Linked DNA regions of Homo sapiens: all the other regions are linked to region 3. Evidence: promoter capture Hi-C in human tissues and cell types (Jung and others, 2019). All regions are on one chromosome and are shown on one strand. The core of a region is centred on a gene start or on the middle of the fragment in contact, and the rest is flanking DNA. Distances in the headings are between cores, read along the strand shown. Region 1 overlaps CFAP70 (cilia and flagella associated protein 70). Region 2 overlaps FAM149B1 (family with sequence similarity 149 member B1). Region 3 holds the start of MSS51 (MSS51 mitochondrial translational activator). Region 4 has its middle 24 kb from the start of MYOZ1. Region 5 overlaps CFAP70 (cilia and flagella associated protein 70).

Evidence for each region. The method cuts DNA at HindIII sites, captures the fragments that hold promoters and counts their contacts. A contact is called where the count stands out against the background at its distance.
Region 1: a contact is called between a fragment that was not itself captured here and the fragment with the promoter of MSS51 in region 3, in 2 of the 25 tissues and cell types used here (bladder and mesenchymal stem cells).
Region 2: a contact is called between a fragment that was not itself captured here and the fragment with the promoter of MSS51 in region 3, in 3 of the 25 tissues and cell types used here (liver, mesenchymal stem cells and spleen).
Region 4: a fragment that was not itself captured here is called in contact with the fragment with the promoter of MSS51 in region 3 in 2 of the 25 tissues and cell types used here (bladder and hippocampus).
Region 5: a fragment that was not itself captured here is called in contact with the fragment with the promoter of MSS51 in region 3 in 3 of the 25 tissues and cell types used here (IMR-90 fibroblasts, bladder and neural progenitor cells).

What each region holds. Positions count from the first base shown.
Region 1 is chr10:73,274,115-73,276,814 of GRCh38, reverse strand. CFAP70 (cilia and flagella associated protein 70) reads left to right here. Exons shown (of 28, transcript NM_001367801.1): 23 at 1,217-1,369; 24 at 2,221-2,382. DNAJC9-AS1 (DNAJC9 and MRPS16 antisense RNA 1) reads right to left here. Exons shown (of 4, transcript NR_038373.1): 4 at 1-2,367. Among named protein-coding and RNA genes, the nearest start is that of MRPS16, 23 kb to the right of the region's middle. The HindIII fragment of the contact is 5,311 bases long and covers 1-2,700 here.
Region 2 is chr10:73,207,196-73,209,895 of GRCh38, reverse strand. FAM149B1 (family with sequence similarity 149 member B1) reads right to left here. Exons shown (of 14, transcript NM_173348.2): 6 at 1,110-1,277. Among named protein-coding and RNA genes, the nearest start is that of DNAJC9, 39 kb to the left of the region's middle. The HindIII fragment of the contact is 5,165 bases long and covers 1-2,700 here.
Region 3 is chr10:73,432,115-73,434,814 of GRCh38, reverse strand. MSS51 (MSS51 mitochondrial translational activator) reads left to right here and starts at 1,254. Exons shown (of 7, transcript NM_001024593.2): 1 at 1,254-1,302. The HindIII fragment of the contact is 24,221 bases long and covers 1-2,700 here.
Region 4 is chr10:73,615,652-73,618,351 of GRCh38, reverse strand. It overlaps a transcript of USP54 not described here. Among named protein-coding and RNA genes, the nearest start is that of MYOZ1, 24 kb to the left of the region's middle. The HindIII fragment of the contact is 5,257 bases long and covers 1-2,700 here.
Region 5 is chr10:73,256,116-73,258,815 of GRCh38, reverse strand. It overlaps CFAP70 (cilia and flagella associated protein 70), which reads left to right. Exons shown (of 28, transcript NM_001367801.1): 27 at 2,400-2,447. The region is part of intron 2 of DNAJC9-AS1 (DNAJC9 and MRPS16 antisense RNA 1); the gene reads right to left. Among named protein-coding and RNA genes, the nearest start is that of MRPS16, 4.8 kb to the right of the region's middle. The HindIII fragment of the contact is 4,219 bases long and covers 1-2,700 here.

The sequences.
Region 1 (2,700 bases), core at 123-2,622, 160 kb after region 3:
CATAACTAGCCCCACATTTGACTTACCCATGCAGTCACAGGTAGAGCAGCTGAAGAATTGAAGCCTCCTCTCAGAGAAGAAGAGCATTCTAGGAAGTCTGCCTATTACATGGGAAGAAAGAAGCATATTCATGAGCAAGCAGTAGGAGAGATCAAGACTCAGGAGCCAGGAGTGTTTGGTTTTGATCCTGCCAAGTGCATGCCCTACTCAAGGGCAGGCAAGCTCAAGAAAGGGCAAGAATTATTAACTGGGTGGGATTGAGCCACATTAAGCAGGAGGCTTTAACACATTAACCCTCCGCAAAATAGAAACAGACTCTCTTCTTCCACAGCTAAATAAGTCATTAGCTCCCCCAGGTCAGAGACCCAGAAGGCAGGTGGAAAAAATAGCTGCAGCTGTTCCCTCTAGTATTCTCCTAAAAAGGTGTAAGTATAATGTAGAATTTTCTACATTATAGGCTGAGATGGGAACAGTGGGAGATGAAAAGAAGGATTTACCCTCGACTTAAGAAGTATATCTAACTTTGTTAATTTTGTAGGTCTTATAAAGTGTAAAAAGCAAAGATTTGGCCAGGCATGGGGCTCACCCCTATAATTCCAGCACTTTTGGGAAGCCAAGGCAGGAGGATTGCTTGAGGCCAGAAGGCTGCAGTAAGCAGCCCTGGGTGACAGAGTAAGACCCTGTCTCTAAAAAAAGAAAAAAAAAAAAACAAAATACAAAAATTGACCCAAACTACAAAACTGGTAAACATAACCAATGTTTGGAGGTGGATCCAAAACAGACATTTATGTTTCTAAGATTTCAAGTCTAGATTGTTAGAAAGGCAGTTTTACCTCACTTAAGTTTCCTTACAATGTCAGCTGCCTGAAAATGTTACCTCCTTTGTAAATGGGGTGGTTGATGATGTGCCTTTGTCTGCTGCATAATACATGCAGTCTAACACTCACCTAGTATGATGACCAGCAAGACCAGAATTGTACAATATTGCAAGTTATTCACTTGGTAATGTCTTCATTTGGTGACTAGGTGAATAGCTGGTAATGGAACTATGAAGTGCAGAATGTTTGTAATTCACCCTTTACCTTTTGAAGTTGAGGATAATTATTTCATTCTGTAATACATTTCGTATTATTTATTATCAGAGACAGAATCCTTCAACCGAAAAAGACGCAATGCAGCCATTTATATGTTGCTTATAATCTGATTATCCTTGCAGTATGTGCACAGAGTGCTTGCACATGAGCTGTTATGCCCTCAAGGAGGCCCCAGCTGTGAATATTACTTGGTGCTGGCCCAAACACACATTCTTAAGAAGAACTTTGCCAAGGCAGAGGAATACCTTCAACAAGCAGCCCAGATGGACTACCTGGTAATGACTTTTGCTAAAGCCTCTTGAGTCTGGAGAAGGGGCTTTATTTAAAGGTGGTGATGCCATATCACACGTAGATTTCTGGTGAACAGAAGGGTGGTCATCAGCTGTCAGTAAACTCATCTCTCTATACCCTTCCATTTGCTTTTCTTAAGTAATCATGAGTTGGCTGGGCGCGGTGGCTCACAACTGTAATCGCAGCACTTTGGGAGGCCGAGGCAGGCAGATCACGAGGTCAGGAGTTCAAGACCAGCCTGGCCAACATAGTGAAACCCCATCTCTACTAAAAATACAAAAAATTAGATGGGCGTGGTGGCAGGTGCCTGTAATCCCAGCTACTCAGGAGGGTGAGGCAGGAGACTCGCCTGAACCTGGGAGGCGGAGGTTGCAGTGAGCGGAGATTGAGCCATTGCACTCTCCAGCCTGGGCGACAGTGCAAGACTCCATCTCAAAAAATAATAATAATAAAGTAATCATGAGTTTTGCAAAGAGCAGAGAAAAGGATATCTTTAGCTGATAGTGTTTATTTCAATTTTTCTAGATTTCTTATATTTTCTCATGTGAACAGTATTGGGGTTATGCTTGAATGTTTTTCTTAATATTTACTCCACACCCAAAATGGCTTTGAAGAATGCAAGAAAGAAATCTGAGGGCAGAGCTAGAAAAATGTCTCCTTGTACAATTAAATGGTTATGTTTCTGAGTGCTCTTAGAAAAAGAAAACGGTTGATCTGAAAAAGAAAAGAGAAAGGAAATGGACAATCTATCTAAATTTAAATGTTAAACAAAGATCATCAAGGTACTTTTAAATACTACCTTATCCCATATACTACTTGCTTTTCACTTTCCCAGAACCCCAATGTCTGGGGCCTGAAGGGCCATCTCTATTTTCTGAGTGGAAATCATTCTGAGGCCAAGGCATGCTATGAACGAACCATTAGCTTTGTAGTGGATGCTTCTGAGATGCACTTCATCTTCCTGAGACTGGGGCTCATCTATCTGGAAGAGAAAGAGGTGAGGGGTAGAGAATGGGGAATAACCCCGTGGTCTGGGAACTAATTGTAATTCAAGCATTAACATCTATCTGTGTGGACTAAAACTAGTAATATAATAATGACACTTTTACATCCAAAGGTAAAGTGACTTGCCCAACATCAGACAACCAGTAATTAGTGGAAGCAGCATTCAAACTCAGGCAGGCTGAAACGAGAGTCTGTGATTTTAACCATTATGCTACTAAACAGTTCTTAAGAACTCAGTAAATGTTATGCTAGCTAAAATTGTATTCACAGTAGTAGAAACATCCTTAGCTTGACTTACTTAACAGAAGGT
Region 2 (2,700 bases), core at 167-2,666, 230 kb after region 3:
ATGGGAAAAAAAAAATGCATCCAGAATCATGTGACACAATACTAACTACTAGACCTAACCACAGCTGCACAGCCTAAAAAGAAATTCTCACTTATTTTCAAATATGCTGCTGTGACTATCAAATCTGGAACTTTTAAAGGCTTAGAGGAATAGTTTAACAGGTTAATGTCACAGAAAGGTAGCAAGGAATAGTGAAGAGAAGACTGGATTGAGAATCAGATGAATAAGGTTTTGGTTTTAGCTTTACTTGAGACAAATCATTAACTACTCTGATTCTCACCTATCCAGTAAAGAAGATAAATCATATCTATGTGATAGGTCTACTGTTAGAATATAGTTAGAATAGATATAAATAGACATTATTAATTATAAAATCTGTGCCAACCATAAGGTTTTAAACAAACTGTTTATACCTTTTTCTTTTCTTTTTTGTTTTGTTTTGTTTTTGGAGATGGAGTCTTGCTCTGTTGCCCAGGCTGGTATGCAGTGGCGTGATCTCGGCTCACTGCAACCTCCGCCTCCCGGGTTCAAGCGATTCTCTGGCCTCAGCCTCCCAAGTAGCTGACATTAGAGGCACGCATCACCATGCCCAGCTAATTTTGTATTTTTAGTAGAGATGGGGTTTCACCATGTTGGCCAGGCTAGTCTCAAACTCCTGACCCAAAGTGATCTGCCTGCCTCGGCCTCCCAATGTGCTGGGATTACAAGTGTGAGCCACCGCGCCCAGCCTGTATATACATTTTTCAAACAGAATTTATGTAAACAAAGTCCATATCTCTTCAACTGCTCTTTTAAAAGGTTTCAAAGTTCCCACTGGTGGTAATTTGCAAAAGGGTAAAATCAAACTATGTGGGGAAAAAATAAACTTATTTTAAAATCTCTAATCTCAGGAACAGGCAAATGATGTGTGAAGTTATAAAATACACAAGGAAGTCTAGTACATGGAGGCAATAAGAACATAAATTCTGGATACCTGAGAAATAACATAAAATAAATAACAGAAACTGGCATATATTTAATAATATACATTGGTAGCATCATTTAGAAAAAATAGGTATTAATACACAAAATAAGAGGGGAGTAAAAAGCTTAAAAGGCATAATACTCACATATCTATGTGATCGAATGCTAGGTATTCCTCAATTATTCCTTCTGAGACGATTATAGAGTCTTCCTCATCTCTTTCCATAGAACAAAAGCTGGAGGATTTGGCAATGGAAGATGCTTTATGAGCATAAGAAGATGAAAAATGTAACTTCTTTCCCCTTATACCAAATCTTGGAGTGGAAAAAAGAAGTAAATATTAATTATGTAAACATAAACAGTTCTTATGGCAACACAGTTACATGAGTTTTGGCTCAAACTCCCCTTGCCCTGGCAATACCTTCGTGGACTATTCTAAGCCTCAATAACCTACCATTTCTCAGAACAGGAAGATTAAATTCTGGTCACAGAACTATTCTGCCTACATGTACTATGGACTATCTGGTACTGCTTGCTGTCTTTTCAGATGCAAACAGCTATAGCTATGTATTAGGTCATCCTTGCCTTGCTATAAAGAAATATCTGAGACCACGTAATTTATAAGAAAAGAGATTTAATAGGCTCACAGTTCTGGAGGCTGTAGAAGCATAGTGCTGGCATCTGCTTCTGCAGAGGACTTACAAAGCTTTTACTCATGGGGGAATGTTAAGTGGGAGCAGGAGCAAGAGAGGTGCCACACACTTTTAAATGACCAGATGTCATGGGAACTCACTATCGCAAAGACAGTACAAAGCCATAAGGGATCCTCCCCCATGACCCAAACACCTCCCACCAGGCCCCACCTCTAGCATTGGGGATTACAATTCAGCATGAGATTTGGGCATCCTGCCCTTGGCTCCTCCCAAATCTCATATCCTTCTCACATTGCAAAATACAATTATGGTTTCCAAAAAGTCTCAAAAGTCTTGACTCATTCCAGTGTTAATTCAAAAGTCCAAAGTCCCACGTCTCCTCTGAGACAAGGCACATCCCTTCCAGCTATGAGCCTGTAAATCAAAAACAAGTTATTTACTTCCAAGATACAATGGGAGTATAGGCGTTAGATAAACATTTCTGTTCCAAAAGAGAGGGGCTACAGATCCCATGCAAGTTCAAAACCCAGTAGGGGAGTCATTAACTCTTAGAACCCCTTGATGTCCCATGACAAGGTGCAAGCGGTAGGCTTCCAAGACCCTGGGCAGCTCTACCCCTGTGGCTTTGCAGGGTTCAGCTCCCAAGGTTGCTCTCATGGGTGGAGTTGAATGCCTGCAGCTTTCTTTTTTCTTTTTTTCTTTTTTTTCTTTTTTGAGAGACAGAGTCTCGTTCTGTCGCCCAGGCTGGAGTGTAGTGGTGGGGTCTCGGCCCACTGCAACCTCTGCCTCCCGGGTTCAAGCAGTTCTCCTGCCTCAGCCTCCTGAATAGCTGGGATTACAGGCGAGCACCACTACACTCAGCTAATTTTTGTATTTTTAGTAGAGATGGGGTTTCACCATGTTGGCCAGGCTGGTCTCGAACTCCTGGTCTCTAGTGATCTGCCCATCTTGGCCTCCCAAAGTGCTGGGATTACAGGCATGAGCCACTGCACCTGGCCTGAATGCCTGCAGCTTTCTAGGTACAGGGTGCAAGGTGAATCTATCATTCTGGGGTCTGGAAGATGGTGACCCCCTTCCCACAGCT
Region 3 (2,700 bases), core at 5-2,504:
ATTTTATTTAGGGTTTTTGCCTATTGCAACTGATTTTCCTTTATCCACAGCTATTCTACATAATGTTATGCAGTGTTTGGTTGAATCCTTAACACTTTTCTTCCACCTTCCCTGCATGTAGTTTGTACTTTTTACAGTTTGGGGTTCCTGTGTGGATTTGATTTGCCACATTCCGGGACCTCATTGCGAGTGATTCTGTTCCCCAGTTTGATGATGTTCAAAGAAGCAGGTAAGTGAGAGCTGGGGTCAGATATAAGCAGAAAGTCAGAACTTTTTTATTTAAAAATTTTAAAAAAATTTTTTGAGGGTAAGAAAGATCTTGCAGTCTTTTAGGACCACTGCCCTAACAACTTCAGATAGGCTAGCTGTAAGTAGAAAGAAGCTAGGACTGTGGAATTGAATTTCCTGGATCAGCTGCAATTACAAGGAGGATAAGAGAATGGTTGAGCTGATTCTTTTCTATTTTCTTTTCCTAGAAATAGTATGTATTTTTAGTCATTAACTAGTATTTTGGTTTTGTTTAATATCCCAGAAGCATTTATTCCTCTCTTAATACAGGTAAAGTGCTCCTGATGACTCTCTCACTCAGAGAGTTATCTTACCCTTCTTTCAGGGAAAGTGAATTTTACAAGTTAATTCTGCATGTTTCCCCTACAACTGATTTCATTCTGTACCATTAAATGGCCATTTATTTTCTCCCTTCTACTTAATCCAAGATTGGACATTGTTGAGTTTTGTTTGAACAATGTTTGTTATGCTGAAAAAGGACACCAGGCCTGGGGGAACTCATCCTGTGTCTAGATCAACAAACAGAACTCCAGAGGGTCCTCTGGTTCCTCCCACTTGGTTGGAAAGGTGCTTACCCTTTCCAATCAAATATTGACTTCTGCACTAATCCAAAGGGTTTTCTTCTGAAGCTGTAAACTGAGAACAGAAATATTGCCTTGAGTGAGAGAAGTCTAGGAAGCAGCAGGTTTCATTTTTTGTCAGCCTGCCTGGCCTTTACTTGGCTAACACTTGGGAGTGTTGACAGTCCTGAGCCCCCTTGGCAGAGAACAAAGGTTAGAGAGAAGCCCTCAGGCAGGGGGACAGATCCCTCTTTGCCTCATTAGGGAGAATTCAGCCTTGTCTGTCTGGTTGGCAGGGCACACTTAATCACTGAGACTCAGCATTTCAGCAGTTTGCAAAGGAAAGTGATATGAAGGGACAGCTGCAAGTAAGCCACAACCTAGATCTGAAGAGATCAAGCACTCATTTCACTTGGAGGAAAGAGAGAAGGAAGGAAGCTGAGGACTTAGCAGGGTAAGTTTTTTTTTCCGTCAACCTGTCTGCTTGCTTAGTTTATAATTGAGTAAAGTATTTATCACCCCAGGCAGTGTTAATCACTGATTAAACAGCTGAATGTGGCCATAATTACAGTGTCCTTAATGTATTTCTCCTTCTCTTTTCCTACCCCCTTATAAGGATCTCCAATGACCAGTTTCAGTCTTCCTTCTCCCTACCTCTCCAAAGACGTTTTGCATTTTTTGGTGACTTACAGAAAATTAGATGAGCACTCCTTATCTGGAGATAGTGAAAATATGACTGTAGTTTAGGTGAAACTTGGGACTCTTGGTGGTAAAGAAGAAGATGGGAAACCTAGGTCTAGGAATAGATTAATATTTTGTCTTGAATTTGGACATGAAGGATAAAAGTTTTTCTAGGCAATCAAGATCATGTCTCCTCTCCAGTTCTTGGTGTTGGTGTTCTCTCTCTTATACTGGGACTAAATTAGAGCCTAAGTCACTGGGGATGGCTAGAAAAAAATGAAAGGGATTCCCTTTCTAAGTGGAGAGCATTCTAGACTCTGGAAAGTTCAAAGAGCTTACTGCAATTCTTTCCAGCTTCTCCTGTGAGTCCCCTGTTTTTTCCTTTGTTTCTCTCAGTTTATAACCTGTGAACAGGGAGTAGCCTGGGGCTCTTTACAGGAGATTTAGAACCAGGGAAGCTGTGTCTGGGCCTGGGGTATATAAACTCAAACATGAACCTGATGATGTATATAGATGCAGATCAAAGACCTGGCTTCTCACCCACCTTCTTTCTTTTCTGCCAGAAAGCTAACTCATTTGTATCATGAACATTGTGCTCTAGACACAGAGGAGACTGTGACATTAGGGATTTTTACCACCACTCCTCTTCCTCAAACTGTGTGATCCTTTTGCTTTCTGACCAGTTCAGCCAACTCCCAGATTGCCAAGAGCTAATCTTCCTTTAGAGGAAGACCTCACCTTGGAAATGCGGAAAAGTAAAGCAGTACCTTTCTGACCTTAAGTGGCTTGCTTCCATTGCAGCAAAAAGGCTTATGTTTTAACTTCAGGGAGATATCTATTATAAATTCTGGGATTTAAGACCCTAGAGTTGTCTCAAATCACACTTTCCTTCCATACCTATTTAAAAAAAAAAAAGTCATTCTTTCAAGGTTTAAGAAAGTGGTGTCTTGGCCGGGCGCCGTGGCTCATGCCTGTAATCCCAGCACTTTGGGAGGTCGAGGTGGGTGGATCACGAGGTCAGGAGTTCGAGACCAGCCTGACCAACATGGTGAAACCCCATCTCTACTAAAAATACAAAAATTAGCTGGGCATGGTGGCGCGAGCCTGTAATCCCAGCTACTCAGGAGGCTGAGGCAGGAGAATCACTTGAACCCGGGAGGTGGAGGTTGCA
Region 4 (2,700 bases), core at 4-2,503, 180 kb before region 3:
TGTTTGAGGTTGCAGTCAGCTAAATCATGCCACTACACTCCAGCCTCAGTCTGACTACACGTCAGAGTGAGAGTGAGACCCTGCTGCTAAAAAGAGAAGACAAGTGATCTCATTTTATTTATTTTTATTTATTAATGTTTTGAGATGGAGTCTTGCTGTGTCACCCAGGCTGGAGTGCAGTGGCGCAATCTCGGTTCACTGCAACCTCCGCCTCCCGGGTTCAAGCAATTTTCCTGCCTCAGCCTCTCGAGTAGCTGGGATTACAGGCACCTGCCACCAAGCTCGGCTAATTTTTGTATTTTTAGTAGAGATGGGGTTTCACCATGTCGGCCAGGCTGGTCTCGAACTCCTGACCTCAGATGATCCGTCAACCTTGCACTCCCAGAATGCTGAGATTACAGGTGTGAACCACTGCCTTATTTTTATTTTTATTTTTATTTTTATTTCTTAAGACAGGGTCTTTGTTGCCTAGGCTGGAGTGCAGTGCAATCACGGCTTACTGCAGCTTTTGCCTCCTGGACTCAAACAATCCTCTCACCTCAGCCTCCCAAGTAGCTGGAACTACAGATGTGCACCACCATGCCCAGCTAATTTTAAAAAAGTTTTTTTCACCCCGCCCTCTCAACAAAGCTTTTCCTGACTCTGCTAGGAACCAGGAAGAGAAAGTCTAATTTTTAATTTTTTTGAAGAGATGAGGTCTCACTATATTGCCCAGGCTGATCTTGAACTCCTGAACTCAAGGAATTTTTCCACCTCAGCCCTCCAAAGTGCTGGGATTACACGTATGAGCCACTGCACCTGGCCAAGTGATCTCATTTTAAATTTCCATTTATTTGAGATGAAGTTGAATATTTTCCATATTTATTATTATTTTTTATTTTTATTATTATTATTTTTAGACAGAGTCTCTCTCTGTTGCCCAGGCTGGAGTGCAATGGCATGATCTCAGCCCACTGCAACCTCCGCCTCCTGGGTTCAAGTGATTCTCCCACCTCAGCCTCCCACGTAACTGGGATTACAGGCATGCGCCACCGCCTGGCTAATTTTTTTTTTTTGAGACAGGGTTTCGCTCTTGTTGCCCAGGCTGCAGTGCAATGGTGCGATCTCAGCTCACCGCAACCTCCACCTCCTGGTTTCAAGCGATTCTCCTGCCTCAGCCACCTGAGTAGCTGGGATTACAGGCATGTGCCACCATGCCCAGCTAATTTTGTATTTTTAGTAGAGACGGGTTTCTCCGTGTTGGTCAGGCTGGTCTCGAACTCCCGACCTTAGGTGATCTGCCCGCCTTGGCCTCCCAAAGTGCTGGGATTACAGGTGTGAGCCACTGTGCCCAGCCTAACATCTTTTTATTTCTTTATTGGCTGTATTTCTTTCAGTGGAATTGCTTATTCTTTGCTTATTTTGTAACTGGGCTTTTTTCTTCTCATTCTACCCCTCCCATCCCATTTTAGTTTTTCTTTTGTATCAAAGCTACATTTATTCTCTGAAAACATTTTTTTAAGTTTTGTTTTGTTTTGTTTTGTTTTTGAGACAGAGTCTCTCTCTGTTGTTAAGGTTGAAGTGCAGTGGTGTGAGCTCAGCTCACTGTAGTCTCCACCTCCCAGGTTTAAATGGTTCTTGTGCCTCAGCCTCCTGAGGAGGCAAGATTACAGGCACCTGCCACCACGCCCAGATAATTTTTGTATTTTTTTTAGAATTTAATTTAATTTTAAGTTCCTGGATACACATGCAGGATGTGCAGGCGTGTTACATAAATGTGTGCCATGGTGGTTTGCTGTACCTATTAACTCATCACCTAGGTATTAAGCCCTGCATACATTAGCTGTTTATCCTGATGCTCTTCCCACCCCCGCACAGGCCCTAGTGTGTGTTGTTCCCCTCCCTGTGTCCATGTGTTTTCATTGTTCAGCTGCCACTTATAAGTGAAAACGTGGCATTTGGTTTTCTGTTCCTGTGTTAGTTTGCTGAGGATACATGAATGGAACTTGATTTTTTTTTTTTTTTTTTTTTTTTTTTGAGATGGAGTCTTGCTGTCGCCTAGGCTGGAGTGCAGTGGCGCAATCTCGGCTCACTGCAGCCTCTGCCTCCTGGGCTCAAGCAGTTCTCCTGCCTCAGCCTCCCAAGTAGCTAGCATTACAGGCACTTGCCACCATCCCTGGCTAATTTTGTATTTTTAGAAGAGACAGGGTTTCACCATGTTCGCCAGGCTAGTCTTGAACTCCTGATCTCAAGTGATCTGCCCACCTCGGCCTCCCAAAGATTACAGGCGTGAGCCACCTTGCCTGGCTTAAGTAATTTCTGTATTTTTAGTAGAGACGAGTTTTGCCATGTTGGCCAGGCTGGTCTTGAACTCCTGGCCTCAAGTAATCCTCTCACCTTGGCCTCCCAAAGTGCTGGGATTACAGGTGTGAGCCACTGTGCTGGGCCTTTTTTTTTTTTTTTTTTTGAGACTGATCTCTTCGTTGCCCAGGCTGGAGTGATTTCGCTCACTACAGCCTCAATTTCCCAAGCTCAGGTGATCGTCCCACCTCAACCTCCCGAGTAGCTGGGACCACAGTGTGAGCCATCATGACCAGCTAATTTTTGTATTTTTTATAGAAAAAGGGTTTTGCTATGTTGCCCAGGCTATTCTAGAATTCCTGACCTCAAGCGATCTGCCTGCCTCAGCTTCGCAGAGTGCTGGGATTACAGGTGTGAGCC
Region 5 (2,700 bases), core at 179-2,678, 180 kb after region 3:
CAGGAAACCGGGGCTTTTTTCATCCCTTATATACAACCATATAAGAGAGAGACACTCCCAGAGCGGCCATTTTAGAGACCTACCCCTGGGAATGCATTCTCTTTCTCAGGGCTGTTCCTTGCTGAGAAAAAGAATTCAGCGATATTTCTCCTATTCGCTTTTGTAAGAAGAGAAATGTGACTCTGTTCTGTCCGGCCCTGCAGGCAGTCAGGCCCAATAGTTATTTCCCTTGTTCCCTGAAAATCACAGCCATCCTGTTCCTTTTGGATGCCCAGATTTCATATTGTTCAAACACACGTGCTCTACAAACAATTTGTGCAGATAACGTAATCATCACAGGATCCTGAGGCAACATACATCCTCAGTTTACAAAGATGATGGGATTAAGAGATTAAAGTAAAGACAGGCATAGGAAATTATAAGAGTATTGATTGGGGAAGTGATAAATGTCCATGAAATCTTCACAATTTATGTTCAGAGATTGCAGTAAAGACAGGCATAAGAAATTATAAAAGTATTAATTTGGGGAACTAATAAATGTCCAAGAAATCTTCACAATTTATGTTCTTCTGCCATGGCTTCAGCCGGTCCCTCCGTTCAGTGTCCCTGACTTCCCACAACAAGCACTGATGAAGACTCTCATAATTGTAATTGGATGTAAATTGGCATAACCACTTTTAAGTACAATGTGGCATTATTTAGTTACATTCATATCTACAATTTGGCAATGTCATATCTAGATATAATCCTAAGAAAAATACAAGAAGACACATACAACATCTGTAATCCTAGCTACTCAGGAGGCTGAGGCAGGAGAATCGCTTGAACCCAGGGGGTGGAGGTTGCAGTGCTGAGACTGTGAGAGTGCTGAGATCGTGCCATTGCACTCCAGCCTGGGTGACAGAGCAAGACTCCGTCTCAAAAAAAAAAAAAAAAAAAGAAGGAAAAGGAGAAGAAGAAGAAATGTACAAGGATGTTTACTGCAGCAATGTTCATGATAGCAGAAAAATTATTTTTCAAAATTGTTTTGGCTATTCTGGATCCTGACATCATTTGGGCCTCTGCCTCCCTGTGGCAGGAGGGAAACAAAGTAATAGTGGTAGGAAAGGCAGGTGTGCTGGAAAATGCTGCTGGCAATTCAGTGAACTTCAGTTGGGAACATTTCAAAGTGTAGATTTGGAGGAAGTAAGGGTTTAGGGTGTGAAAGTTTTGTGAACCAGTAAAACTTTCATATGGACTAGCATTAATCAGAAAATTGGACTAGATATTCCCCAGGTCCCCTTCAGACACGAATATTCTGTGGTTCTTACATATTTAAGCTTTACCAAGTGACTTTGCATACTCTAAGTAACTATGTAGCAAACTCAAGAAGTAGAATAGTGGATTCATATTATCTCATTTAACTTCTGGAGGAGTGCTTCATGCAAAGAATAATATAAACTGGTGGGGAGTAGTTAATGTTCTTATCTCATATCCAGATCTTCATAGAAGTAATTCTGATACCTACTTTTTCTAATTCCTAGAGACAGAGTAATGTAGTAGTTAAAAACTTGGACTCTGGAGTCAAACTGCATTGTTTTAAACCTGGCTCCTCTACTTACTAGCTTCATAACCCTGGCAAGTTACTTATCCTCTCTGTAAATTGGGAATAATAAATAACAGTAGTTATCTCCTAGGTCTTGAGGATTAAGAATGAACTTAAATAAAGCACTAAAAACAACATCAATAATGAAAACAATGTAAATCACATAGTACGGAGTGGTAAGTGTTAATTATTATTAACAGAATGGCTTCAGTCCTAAGAGGAACAAATGACTCATGGTGCTTTCAAAAAGGTGAGAGGCCAAGTTATCTTTAAGCTTTTCAAAAGGAAGGAGGAATTTTTTTTCCTTTTTTTTTTTTTTTTTTTTTTTGAGATGGAGTCTCACTCTGTTGCCCAGGATGGAGTGCAGTGGCATGATGTCGGCTCACTGCAACCTCTGCCTCCTGGGTTCAAGCGATTCTCCTGCCTCAGCTCCCCTAGTAGCTGGGACTACAGGCGCATGCCACCACACCCGGCTAATTTTGTGTATTTTTATTAGAGACGGGGTTTCACCGTGTTAGCCAGGATGATCTCGATCTCCTGACCTTGTGATCCACCCACCTCGGTCTCCCAAAGTGCTGGGATTATGGGCATGAGCCACCACGCCTGGCCAGGAGGAATTTTTTAAAAAAAAAACCTTTTTCTCCCTACCACCTTTCATTTGCTAGTTTTTCCTCTCAATTCAGAAGTTCTTAACTGGAAGGTGTAGAAGCCTCTGCCTTAGGTGTAGGTGCCTCTGCCTTAGCTGAGGCAATGTATTTTCCTTACCATAATGTTTATGACCTGTCATCATCACCAACTGCTGCACTTTTTTCAGGTTGGACGGCAATTAGAAGCTGAGCAGGCCTACAAGTACATGATCAAGGTATGACACAGATGCCTCTGTCATTTGCCTGCCCCATGTTAAGGGTGGGAAATTAGGAGGGAGGTACTGGCTTAATTCAGGACTTTCATAATGTGAATATTTTTCTAGAGGCTTTTCTTACCATCTTTGCCATTATCGTGGGGCTGCTGGGTTTGTAATAACAACCTACATATTACCATAGGTGATCTTTCTTCCAGCTCTTTAGAGAGAATATATAATAGTTAATAGAAAGATAGCCTGGGAGTCAGTCAAC